3 separate regions of the Homo sapiens genome follow, and regions 2 and 3 are each linked to region 1. The links are contacts of gene promoters, found by promoter capture Hi-C in blood cells and fetal thymus (Javierre and others, 2016). All regions are on one chromosome and are shown on one strand. The core of a region is centred on a gene start or on the middle of the fragment in contact, and the rest is flanking DNA. Distances in the headings are between cores, read along the strand shown. Region 1 holds the start of JAG2 (jagged canonical Notch ligand 2). Region 2 has its middle 12 kb from the start of TMEM121. Region 3 holds the start of CRIP2 (cysteine rich protein 2).

The links. Contacts are between HindIII fragments. The CHiCAGO score rates a contact against its expected background, and 5 or more counts as called.
Region 2: a contact is called between a fragment that was not itself captured here and the fragment with the promoter of JAG2 in region 1, in 4 of 17 cell types (total CD8 T cells, naive CD4 T cells, naive CD8 T cells and 1 more). The highest score is 7.1, in total CD8 T cells.
Region 3: the fragment with the promoter of CRIP2 here is called in contact with the fragment with the promoter of JAG2 in region 1 in 3 of 17 cell types (monocytes, non-activated CD4 T cells and total CD8 T cells); the score reaches 7.9 in monocytes.

The regions. Positions count from the first base shown.
Region 1 is chr14:105,167,224-105,170,569 of GRCh38, reverse strand. It overlaps JAG2 (jagged canonical Notch ligand 2), which reads left to right and starts at 1,794. Exons shown (of 26, transcript NM_002226.5): 1 at 1,794-2,215; 2 at 2,463-2,813. The coding sequence starts at 2,150. RefSeq lists an enhancer at 2,573-3,072. The HindIII fragment of the contact is 17,945 bases long and covers 1-3,346 here.
Region 2 is chr14:105,536,814-105,540,159 of GRCh38, reverse strand. It overlaps the pseudogene ATP5MC1P1. Among named protein-coding and RNA genes, the nearest start is that of TMEM121, 12 kb to the right of the region's middle. The HindIII fragment of the contact is 2,155 bases long and covers 590-2,744 here.
Region 3 is chr14:105,473,198-105,476,543 of GRCh38, reverse strand. CRIP2 (cysteine rich protein 2) reads right to left here and starts at 1,723. Exons shown (of 8, transcript NM_001312.4): 1 at 1,639-1,723. The coding sequence starts at 1,681. RefSeq lists silencers at 1,701-1,810, 1,991-2,060, 2,331-2,480, 2,571-2,660, 2,671-2,720 and an enhancer at 2,749-3,281. The HindIII fragment of the contact is 47,861 bases long and covers 1-3,346 here.

The DNA of each region.
Region 1 (3,346 bases), core at 545-3,044:
CCTATGCCAGCTTCTGTATGACTTGTCTAAGTCCTCTGTCCACCCCCGGGCTGGGGGCTCCTGAGGGTGTGCAGGGGCGGAGTCTCCCTTGTTCACCACTTGGCCAAGTGCCCAGCAGAGGCACCCAGCACCCCCTCCCCCACCATAGTGGGGCAGTGGGCGCAGGTGGGGATGGAGCCCTGGGCCTCTGGAGCCGGGCAGGGGGCTTCTCTGTCCTGGGGCTTCCCTCTCTCGAGTACCCGAGTACCTGCCCCCAGGCCAAAGCACAGGAGAGGTGGCATCTCCACAGGGAGCCCCTCCCCCCGTAGGCGGTAATCACCGCCCACACACCGGAAGGCGGCAACTGGAAGGCTCTGAACACAGCTTGGATTCTCTTGTTTGGTGGGGGTCTCTGTGCGGGCCTCATCCTGGCTTGTGTCTTAATCCCCACGAAGCCTACCCACCACCAAGTTTGGGGTGGGCACTCTGAGCAGAGCCAGCTGAGGTGGGCATGGGGGGCTCCCACCCACCCCTTTAGGGACCTTCAGCTGAGCCTGCGGCCTGGATCCTGGAGGAGCTGCTAAACAGGGATGGAGCAGGCAGACCCTGCGCATGGGGTGTTCACAGGCCCTGTGCCTCCAAAGCTCTCTTCCTTCAGCCCTCAGCCCCAGCAGCATGGTGGCAGTGACTTGCTCCAGGCTGGGGGGCTGCACAGCCACCCAGCTCCGGGCACAGGGCAAATTTGCGAGAGGAGCTAGGGGGAGAGAAGACAGCTCAGTTATCATGGGGATGGGTTGAGGACCCCTCTGGACCATATGGGGATCTTTAACCACCAAGGTGACCCCTAGCTCTGGAAAGGACCGTGCTCACTGGAGGAGAGGAAGGTGCCATTGGTTTTGACCCTGTGGAGGAGCTGCGAGGTCACCCAGGGAGAGGGCAAGGAGGTGACCGCAGAGGATGGGGTGTGGAAGCCTGGTGACCAGGGCAGCAGTGGGAGGCCTCTCTCGGGGTAGCCTTCAGGGACAGGCACTGCCGACTTTTGTTCCCCATTTCCCGCCTCTCGCCCCCCAAGCCCAGACCTGAGTTTGGGGGGCGAGAGGCGGGAAACGGGGAATGTGGCCTGAGCATTTCCTGAGGGCATGGCCTGGCTACCTCGACGCCAGCGCCGAGCTGAGCAGTCTGCACCCTGGAGCATTTGTTGACTGGCTGCTTGACCAGCGCGCCTCGCAGAGGGGAAGGCAGGGGCGTCGGAGGGGCGCAGCGCCCCCTGCAGCCGGCGTGGAGGCGGTAGGAGCGGCGCGGAGAAGGGGAGATTCTCGGAGGAGGTGGGGGGCGCGCAGTAGGGGCTGGGCCCGGCTCTGGCCCCAGGGCCGCGCCACCCCGCGTGGGGGCCGAGCCCTGATCAGAGTAGGAGGCGGCATCTCCTCTGGGACTGCGAGGAGCGCGGCGGTGGCGCACTGATGGGAGGGGACCACACGGCAACCTCGGGGCGCCCCACCCCCGGTTTCTGACACCCGGCAGGAGCCCAGGCGGAGGAGGGGAGGCAGCTTTGCGGCGCCGGCGCACGCCTCGCCGACTCACGCGGAGGTGTGAGCGGGGCCCCCGCGGCCCGCGCTGACCCCGAGGCCCCGTGCCCCCGCCGCCCGGGCGCCCTGGGGGGCGCGCGCCGGGCCGGGGCGCTGGCAGGCGACGCCCTCCACCGCCTTTAAAGCCTGGGGCGCCCCCGGACCCCCCCCCGGCCCCACCCCGCGGCGCGGCCCCGCCCCCTCATGCATATGCAGGTGCGCGGGTGACGAATGGGCGAGCGAGCTGTCAGTCTCGTTCCGAACTTGTTGGCTGCGGTGCCGGGAGCGCGGGCGCGCAGAGCCGAGGCCGGGACCCGCTGCCTTCACCGCCGCCGCCGTCGCCGCCGGGTGGGAGCCGGGCCGGGCAGCCGGAGCGCGGCCGCCAGCGAGCCGGAGCTGCCGCCGCCCCTGCACGCCCGCCGCCCAGGCCCGCGCGCCGCGGCGCTGCGCTCGACCCCGCCCGCGCCGCCGCCGCCGCCGCCTCTGCCGCTGCCGCTGCCTCTGCGGGCGCTCGGAGGGCGGGCGGGCGCTGGGAGGCCGGCGCGGCGGCTGGGAGCCGGGCGCGGGCGGCGGCGGCGGGGCCGGGCGGGCGGGTCGCGGGGGCAATGCGGGCGCAGGGCCGGGGGCGCCTTCCCCGGCGGCTGCTGCTGCTGCTGGCGCTCTGGGTGCAGGTGAGCGGGGCGGCGGGGGCGGCGGGGGTCGCGGACGGGGCACACCGGGCCGCCCCTAGGGGCCGGGCGGGCACTGCCTGGGGCCGCCGTGGTTCGGAAGCCCTCGAGGCTGCGCGCGGCGGCTGGGGCTCCGGGCGGGCGCGGCTGGGTGGGGGCGGGGCGGCGGGGCCTGTTCCCCCACCCCTGGCGCCCGGCCCGCCGACCCCGGCCCGCGCCTCCCTCCGCTCTCCCGCTGCCTTATTTTTAGGCGGCGCGGCCCATGGGCTATTTCGAGCTGCAGCTGAGCGCGCTGCGGAACGTGAACGGGGAGCTGCTGAGCGGCGCCTGCTGTGACGGCGACGGCCGGACAACGCGCGCGGGGGGCTGCGGCCACGACGAGTGCGACACGTACGTGCGCGTGTGCCTTAAGGAGTACCAGGCCAAGGTGACGCCCACGGGGCCCTGCAGCTACGGCCACGGCGCCACGCCCGTGCTGGGCGGCAACTCCTTCTACCTGCCGCCGGCGGGCGCTGCGGGGGACCGAGCGCGGGCGCGGGCCCGGGCCGGCGGCGACCAGGACCCGGGCCTCGTCGTCATCCCCTTCCAGTTCGCCTGGCCGGTACGTGCGCTCCATCCCTCGTGCTCCAGCCCTTCCCTCTCTCTCCGCGCCCCGGCCCCGCGCGCTTCGCGACCCCCAACACCTGCGGCCGGGTCTGCGTGCGAGCCGCGCGCGCCCAGGCGGGGCGGGGCCGGCAGGGGGCGCGTGCTCTGGGGACTTGGTCCGCGCCTGGCCACGTGGGCGCGCCGGGGCCCCGGGGCCACCGGGAGCGGGGTCGCGGCGGGGGCGGGGCGGCGGCGTCCCGCGTGCGCGGCGGTGTGCGGCGTGTGCCTGCGTCGCCCTGCGCGTGTCTGTCTGGGTGGGGAGGCGAGGCGAGGCGCCCCGGTCCCGGGCAGGCCGCGGTGGCATGTGCGCAGCGCGTGCTGGGGCTGGTCTAGGGCAGGCCCTGACTGAGCCGCCCCGGGCCCGTGGCCAGCCTGCGCCTGCCCTGCAGTTTCCTGGATGCCTGGGGGGCACGGGCGGGCGCCGTGGGACCTAGGCCCGGGAGAGCCTAACGCCTAACGCTTATGTCGGCAGAAGCCCCCGATGGTGAC
Region 2 (3,346 bases), core at 418-2,917, 370 kb before region 1:
TGCTGGGATTACAGGCATGAGCCACCACCCCTGGCCCAGACTTGATTTTTTATTAACTTTCTTTGCTCCTGGCAGGACCAAAGGCCCTCATATTCTGTCTCTCAAAGTGGGCTCTGTGTGCATAAATGCATGGACATCATTTTACGTAGATTCTTTCTATATTATGTATCATAAAATTTTAACAGAAAAATGTATTATCAAATCACCTAAAAGCGCCAGGTGTGGTGGCTCACGCCTGTAATCCCAGCACTTTAGGAGGCCGAGGCGGGCGGATCACGAGGTCAGGAGATCGAGACCATCCTGGCTAACACGGTGAAACCCCATCTCTACTAAAAATACAAAAAATTAGCCGAGTGTGGTGGCATGTGCCTGTACTCCCGGCTACTCAGAAGGCTGAGGCAGGAGAATCGCTTGAACCCAGGAGGCGGAGGTTGCAATGAGCCAAGATCGCACCACTGCACTCCAGCCTGGCGAGAAAGCAAGACTCCGTCTCAAAAAAAAAAAACAAAAAAAAATCACTAAAAGCTGTGGAACAAGGAGGACACCTTAACTTATATGAAAATTGATCATCTGGGCCAGTTCTGAAGCTTGTCTCAATCCAGATTTGTCAGAAACTGGATCCAGTGAGCACCATCGCCTGCCCCAGACCCAATCAGCCAAGCATGGGGAGAGCAAAGAATTTCGAAGTTTAAAGTGTGCCATGAAGAACTGCTTTGTGTTGGATAAATAAGTTTAAATTATTTGAAATCTGGATTTTTATTTCTTTCTTTGTGTTTTGTGTGGGTTTTCTTGAGACAGGGTCTTGCTATGTTGTCCAGGCTGGAGTGCAGTGGCACCATCTCTGCTTGCTGTAGCCTTGACCTCCTGGGCTCAGGTGATCCTCCTGCCTCAGCCTCCTGAGTAGCTGGGACCACAGGCACGCGCAACCATGCCTGGCTAATTTTTAAAATTTTTTTAGAGACAAGGTCTCACTACATTGCCCAGGCTGGTCTCAAACTCCTGGGCTCAAGCAATCCTCCTCCCACCTCAGCCTCCCAAAGTGCTGGGATTGCAGGGGTGAGCCACAGCACCCAGCCCTCAGAAATCTTTTGTAATGCCCAGTGATGTTTGTAATGTGTTGATAACAGACACCAAGTCAGGGTCTCTCGTTCCTGAACACAAGTGGGACAGAGTCCCAGCCTTCTTGTGGCAGATGTCACCGTGAGGCTGGGCCCTGGACAACAGTGAGTGAGATAAGCCGGGGAGCTTCGACCGGGCCAGGCTGTCGGGGCCTCAGCCCGAGTGTGACCCAGGGCAAGCCAGGGTCAGTCTGCGATGAGCGTCAAGGTTCAGTGTGGACCTGCACTCAGGGCCTGGGACTGTGGGAGACACGTCCGTCGGGGACGAGGCCGAAACAAACAGCCCCAAGCGCTCAGTGGCTTCAGCAGCAAAGGGTTGTCTCCTGCTTGGGCTTTGGTGGGGAGGTGGGATCCACTCCAGAGCTCACTCAGGGCCCAGGCTGAGGCAGCCCCACCTTCCTTAGCCCACCCCGTGCAACCGCAGCCTCTCCGGACGCTGCAACAGGGAGATGCTGCTGGGCCATGGTCAGCCGGGAGGTGACACAAAGGTGGCGCAGGAGGTGATGCGGGAGGTGACACAGAGCTGATGCAGGTGATGCGGGAGGTGACACAGAGCTGATGCAGGTGATGCGGGAGGTGACACAGAGCTGATGCAGGTGATGTGGGAGGTGACACAGAGCTGATGCAGGGGATGTGGGAGGTGACACAGCTGATGCAGGTGATGTGGGAGGTGACACAGCTGATGCAGGAGGTGACATGGAGGTGACACACAGATGACACGGGAGGTGACGTGGGAGTTGATACGAACCCACTGGCCAGGCCCTCGCTGCCGGGGCAGGCAGAGGCAAGGGAGCAGATGAGTGTTCAGTGAGCAGAATCGGGCTCGGGTTCTGGTCAGGGGCATCAGCACAGCCTGGGGCTGGGGCAGCCTCAGCCTTTGGCCGCGCAGGGTCCTGTGGGGTCGGGGGGTCGGGGCACCACTGGCAGGTCCCGGTCTCACAGCCGGGTCCCGCGGCTCCCTCCTCAAAGGGACCCAGAGCCGGGCTCGGGAGCCCCCTTGTGGCCATCTGGCGACACTGCAGGCTCCGCCGGCGCGAAGGTCCAGAGGCTCCCGCATGCCCCAGCCAGGTAGGGTTCTCAGGCAGGTGAGCTTTGTGGGCAGCCTCACCTGCCAGGAATATGTGTGCCCCCTGCCTGCAGGCCAGCCTTGGCCACGGTCCAGTCCCAACATAATATCACTTGGTGAGGCCTACCCTGACCCAAGGCCTGCCTGAGTGGGGTCTCTCTGTGTGGCCCTGCCCCAACCTCCCTGCATCACACTCCACCCCACGCACCTGTGTGATACCTGTCTCCCTCCAGGCGTGGAGCCTCTCCTCCTAGGAGGCATCCCAGAGACACCCCGGGGGGCCGGGGTCACTCAGGTGCACCCCACAGGTGCAGGTTGCAGGTGGGAGAGCAGCACACAGCTGCTGTGTGGCTCCTGCAGTGGGCCCTGCCTCCCATGCTGTGGATTTGGCATCCGGTACACAGGCCCACTGCGCCTCACCATCCCCTCCAGGCCCACCAGCCGTTTCTGTGCAACTTCCCGCAGCAGCCTTGAAAGTGTTCACTGTGGGAACGCAACACGGACCAGCTCTCGAGGAAAGCACCCCCTGGGGCGGATACTCATGAGGGCGGGAGAAAGCTTTCCTCAAGGCTCACGCACTTTGAAACATGTTTCCGATGATCTCCACATTCAGCTTATTTCATAAGCAATGAGTAAAAGTGAGTCGGTCACCTTAGGTCACCTTCAGCCGGGCGAGTGCTGTGGGCCCGCAGGTGCTGCAGGGCAGTGGGAGTGCAGACAGAAAATGCAGACCCCCGGGCATTACTCACCTCTCCAGCTCTGGTCCGCTGTTGTACCACGGGTCTAATCAGGCTGTGTCTGTCTCCTTCTTGAACAGCCCAGAAAATTCATCTGAACAGCCTTCCTACAGCCGCTCCCCACACCAGGTGGCCAGGTGGGAGTTCCAGACCAGAGCTGTCTCCCGGGATGTTGACACAGCAGCCACGTTGATTGGTGTTGGGGCAGCCCCTGTCGGTGTGGCTGGCTTCGGGCCTGGCATTGGAACGGTGTCTGGCAGCTTGTTGGCTATGCCGGGAATCTGTTTCTCAAGCAGCAGCTCATCTCCGATGCCATTCTGGGCTTTGCTGTGTCTGAGGCCATGGGGCTGTTCTGTTTGGTGGTCGTCTTCCTCATCCTCGCCACGTGAGGCTCCACAGGGGTCACCTGCCTGTCCCTGCTGCCC
Region 3 (3,346 bases), core at 474-2,973, 310 kb before region 1:
TCCGAGTTGGGAACACAGAATCGATTGGGTCTAATGGCTCAGAAGAAAACCAGCTGCCCACCCTGGCTGCATGGGCTCTGGGGTGGCCTCCTCAATGTGCTCCGACATCCCAGCCTGGGTTCTACTCAGGTATGAGCTGCGGGGGCAGCCTGGTGTGAGGGTGGGCAGGATTCTGGACCCTCGCCCTCACAGTGCCTCCCAGGCAGGACAGAAGCCAGCCGGGTCTGAAGCGCCTTTGTTTTCCGCTGAGAGGCTGGGCGGGCCAGGCAGGCAGGCCTTTCCGGGCTGTCCACAGGACTGTTGGCCGAGACCCTGGAGAGCCCCAGGCTGGCCTGGCCCGGCCTGGGGTAAAGTCATGGGCAGTTGGACTGCAGAAGGGCCCTGGGGACCGTCTCCCACCCTAAGCCTTACAGAGACAGCCCTCGCTGGGACAGAGACTGAGGGCTGAGCGGGCTCCAGGAGAGGCAGCCGGAAGCCCCTCGGCTCCCAGCCACGCCAGAAGCACTCCAGGCCAAATCCGGTCCCTCCCCTCTGGGACGGGCAAAATACAACCTCCCCTCAACCCCCTCCAGCCTGTGAGCCGGGGAAGCCCAGTGGCGGCCTTCCCTGCAGCCTGGCCGCATTCTGGGTATGGGGCGACCAGGGCAGGCGCCCTGTTGGTCCCGGCCCTCCTCTCTGCTTCACTAAGTCTGCCCCCCTTCGTGCAGCAGCTGGTGGGTAGGTGGGCAGGGACCTTACCACCCTGGAGAAAGCTGGGCAGCGAATCAGCCAGGAGGAAGGGGGTAGGAAGGGCGCACCCAGGCCCAGAGAGTGAGTAAGCCCAGACGGGGGGAGCGCGCCTGCCGGAGGGGCTAGACCGAGGGCCGCCTTGCGAGACATCCCTCTTCCCGCCACCACCTGCATCCTGTCCAGGGCTGTTCTGACCTTGAGGAGGCAGGGATCCTGGACACCTGGGCTGCTTGAGCACAAGGTCCCTCTCACGTTCGCGGGAACTCGCGTGTCACACCCGCCCCCACCCTACCCCCGTGTGAAACTCCTGGGGGAACTGGCGCCAAGGGAATGCGTCGGGACAAGCAGGAGGCAGAGGCCAAGGTCGCCCCCGCTTGGACTGAATCCCGACAGAGTCCAAACCTGGCCCAGCCCAGCTCAGCGGAGCCCGGAGTGGGAGCTGGGGGTCACTGTTCCCGGCCACTTGTTCCCGGGGGAAGCGGGTGTAGGGGGTCCAGGAGAAAGGGCCCAGGCCCACGGGAGCGCGCGGGACGCACCCGGGGCGTACAGCCACGCCCTGCCCCGCCCCGCCCGGCGCCGTCCGAGGAACCGGGATGCGTCCGCGGATCCCCGAGCGCTCCCCCAAACACTGGCCTCATCCCGGGGCACCACAAGCCCCGCCCGGGTGGTCCCTGCCCCGCCCCCACAAGCCGCTTCGGGGTTCGGGCGTGACCGCCCCCGCTTTCGCGCAGCCCCACCCTTTGGCTTTAGCCGCTTGGGCAGCGCGGCCAGCCAGCCTCCGGGACGCGCATCCTCGGTCCGGGGCCGGGGCCGGGCGCACCCCGAGTTACGCCGCGGCTCTGCGGCGCGGGACTGGCCGCGAAGGGCGGCGGGATGCACCGAGCGGGCCGGGAGCGGGCACGCACTCACCGAAGTACACGGTCTTGTCGCACTTGGGGCATTTGGAGGCCATGGTCGGTGCGCCCGGTCGGCCCGCGCCCTCCGCCCGTTCTCCTCCGGGCCGCCGCCGCCCGCGCCCAGCCCCGCCTGCCCGGCTGTCCGCGCGCCCATTGGCTCCGCGGCCGGGGCGGGGCCTCGATAACCCGTCCCCCGGGCTGGGGGCCGCCTGGGGGCGCCGCGGGGGCGGGGCGCACCTGCCGGGGGTGGCGGGTGCGGGGCAGCCGGGCCAGGCCTGGCGCCCCCGGGCCCCTCGCGCCGGAGGTGGCGTCTACAGGGGCCCGCCCGGGCGACCGCGGCGCCGCCCGCGCCCCGGCTGTTTCCATGGCGACGTCGGGGCCGCCTGGCCGGGCCGTCCCCGGGGCGGCGGGCAGGGTGCGGGGAGCCTGGCCCTCGGCTCTCGGGGAGCCCTAGTGACTTGGGCCTAGGGGTCCAACACTCCCGGCCCTGGGCGCCCAGGCTGCGCTCCGCCGCGGGAAGGGGTCGCAGGCTCCGGGAGAACCCCACCCCCACCCCGCCGCGCGCGGCGCCTGTCCCGCTTCCCTTTGTTGCTCGGTTTCCATAGCAACAGCCGCGCCGCGGGAGCGGAGTCAGATTCCCGGCGGGCACGGCCCCCAGCCCTGTCCGGGTCTCCATGTCCCGCTCCGCCCCCGCCCGCGCCCCGCCCCAACACTGTCTGTGGTGCTGAAGGCTCCTTGGGTGGAGGGCAGGGCTCAGGAAGGAAGGCGCCGCCACCTCCAGAAACAGCTCGAGAAGCTGCTGGTAGGGGGTGTGGGGAGGTCTGCGTCTGCCTCCCAGGCAGGGAAGGGGCGGCGGGCACCAGCGCCGAGGGATCCGCGCTTAAGGCGTCCACCCCAAGCACTTCCACCCAGGGGGCGGCCGGGGAGGCGGTGAGGAGTTAGGAAGGGAAGGAGGGGAAGGAGTGGGCGTGCCCTCTGTGCCCCGGGCTGGGGCTGACACTCCAGTCCCTTCTCCCGCACCGCCCAGGACCAGCTGCGTGCCTGGGGGCCCAGGGCCTGACCTCGAGGGGTCAGGCGGGAGATTGAGGGGTCATGCCAGTCACCGCACCCCCACACCCCCACTCTGGCCTCCTCCCAACCAGGGCGTGCCTGACCACGCCTCACCACAGTGCCTCCGCCCTAGAGCCCCGTAGAGCCTGGCCCCAGGTGGGGAACCTCCGCACCCACGGGCTTCCTGGTGCTCTGTCCCCATGGGCCCTTCTCTGAGCCTTCTGGCCCCAGCTGAGCGTCGGCCTGGGAGACAGGCAGATCCCAGAAGCCCAGTGATCAGGCCCTATGGGGGCAGCTGACTCTGGACACCCTTCCCCCTGTGTCTTGGAGGCTGTGGGCTGGACACGGAGACCTACCTGTTCCCTCTGCCTGGTGCACCAGGCATGTTTGTGAGCCAACCAGAGGCCCTCGGTGCTCCTGGCTTTCATGGTGGTCCTGGCTGGGCTCTCTGTGGCAGCACCCTCCTCCCTTGCACACACACCCTGCAGCCACTGCCATTTCCATGGTGACAGCAGGCCAGAAACATGCCCCCCGCCCCCCCGCCCGACTGACCAGCCTGACCAGCTCCCCCTCTGCACTTGGGACCTGTGCCAGCCAAGGCAGAAGATGGTGAGGAGGCATCAGTCAGTACCTTTTCTGGGCAGCCCTTCCTCCCTGGCAGGCCCAGGGGT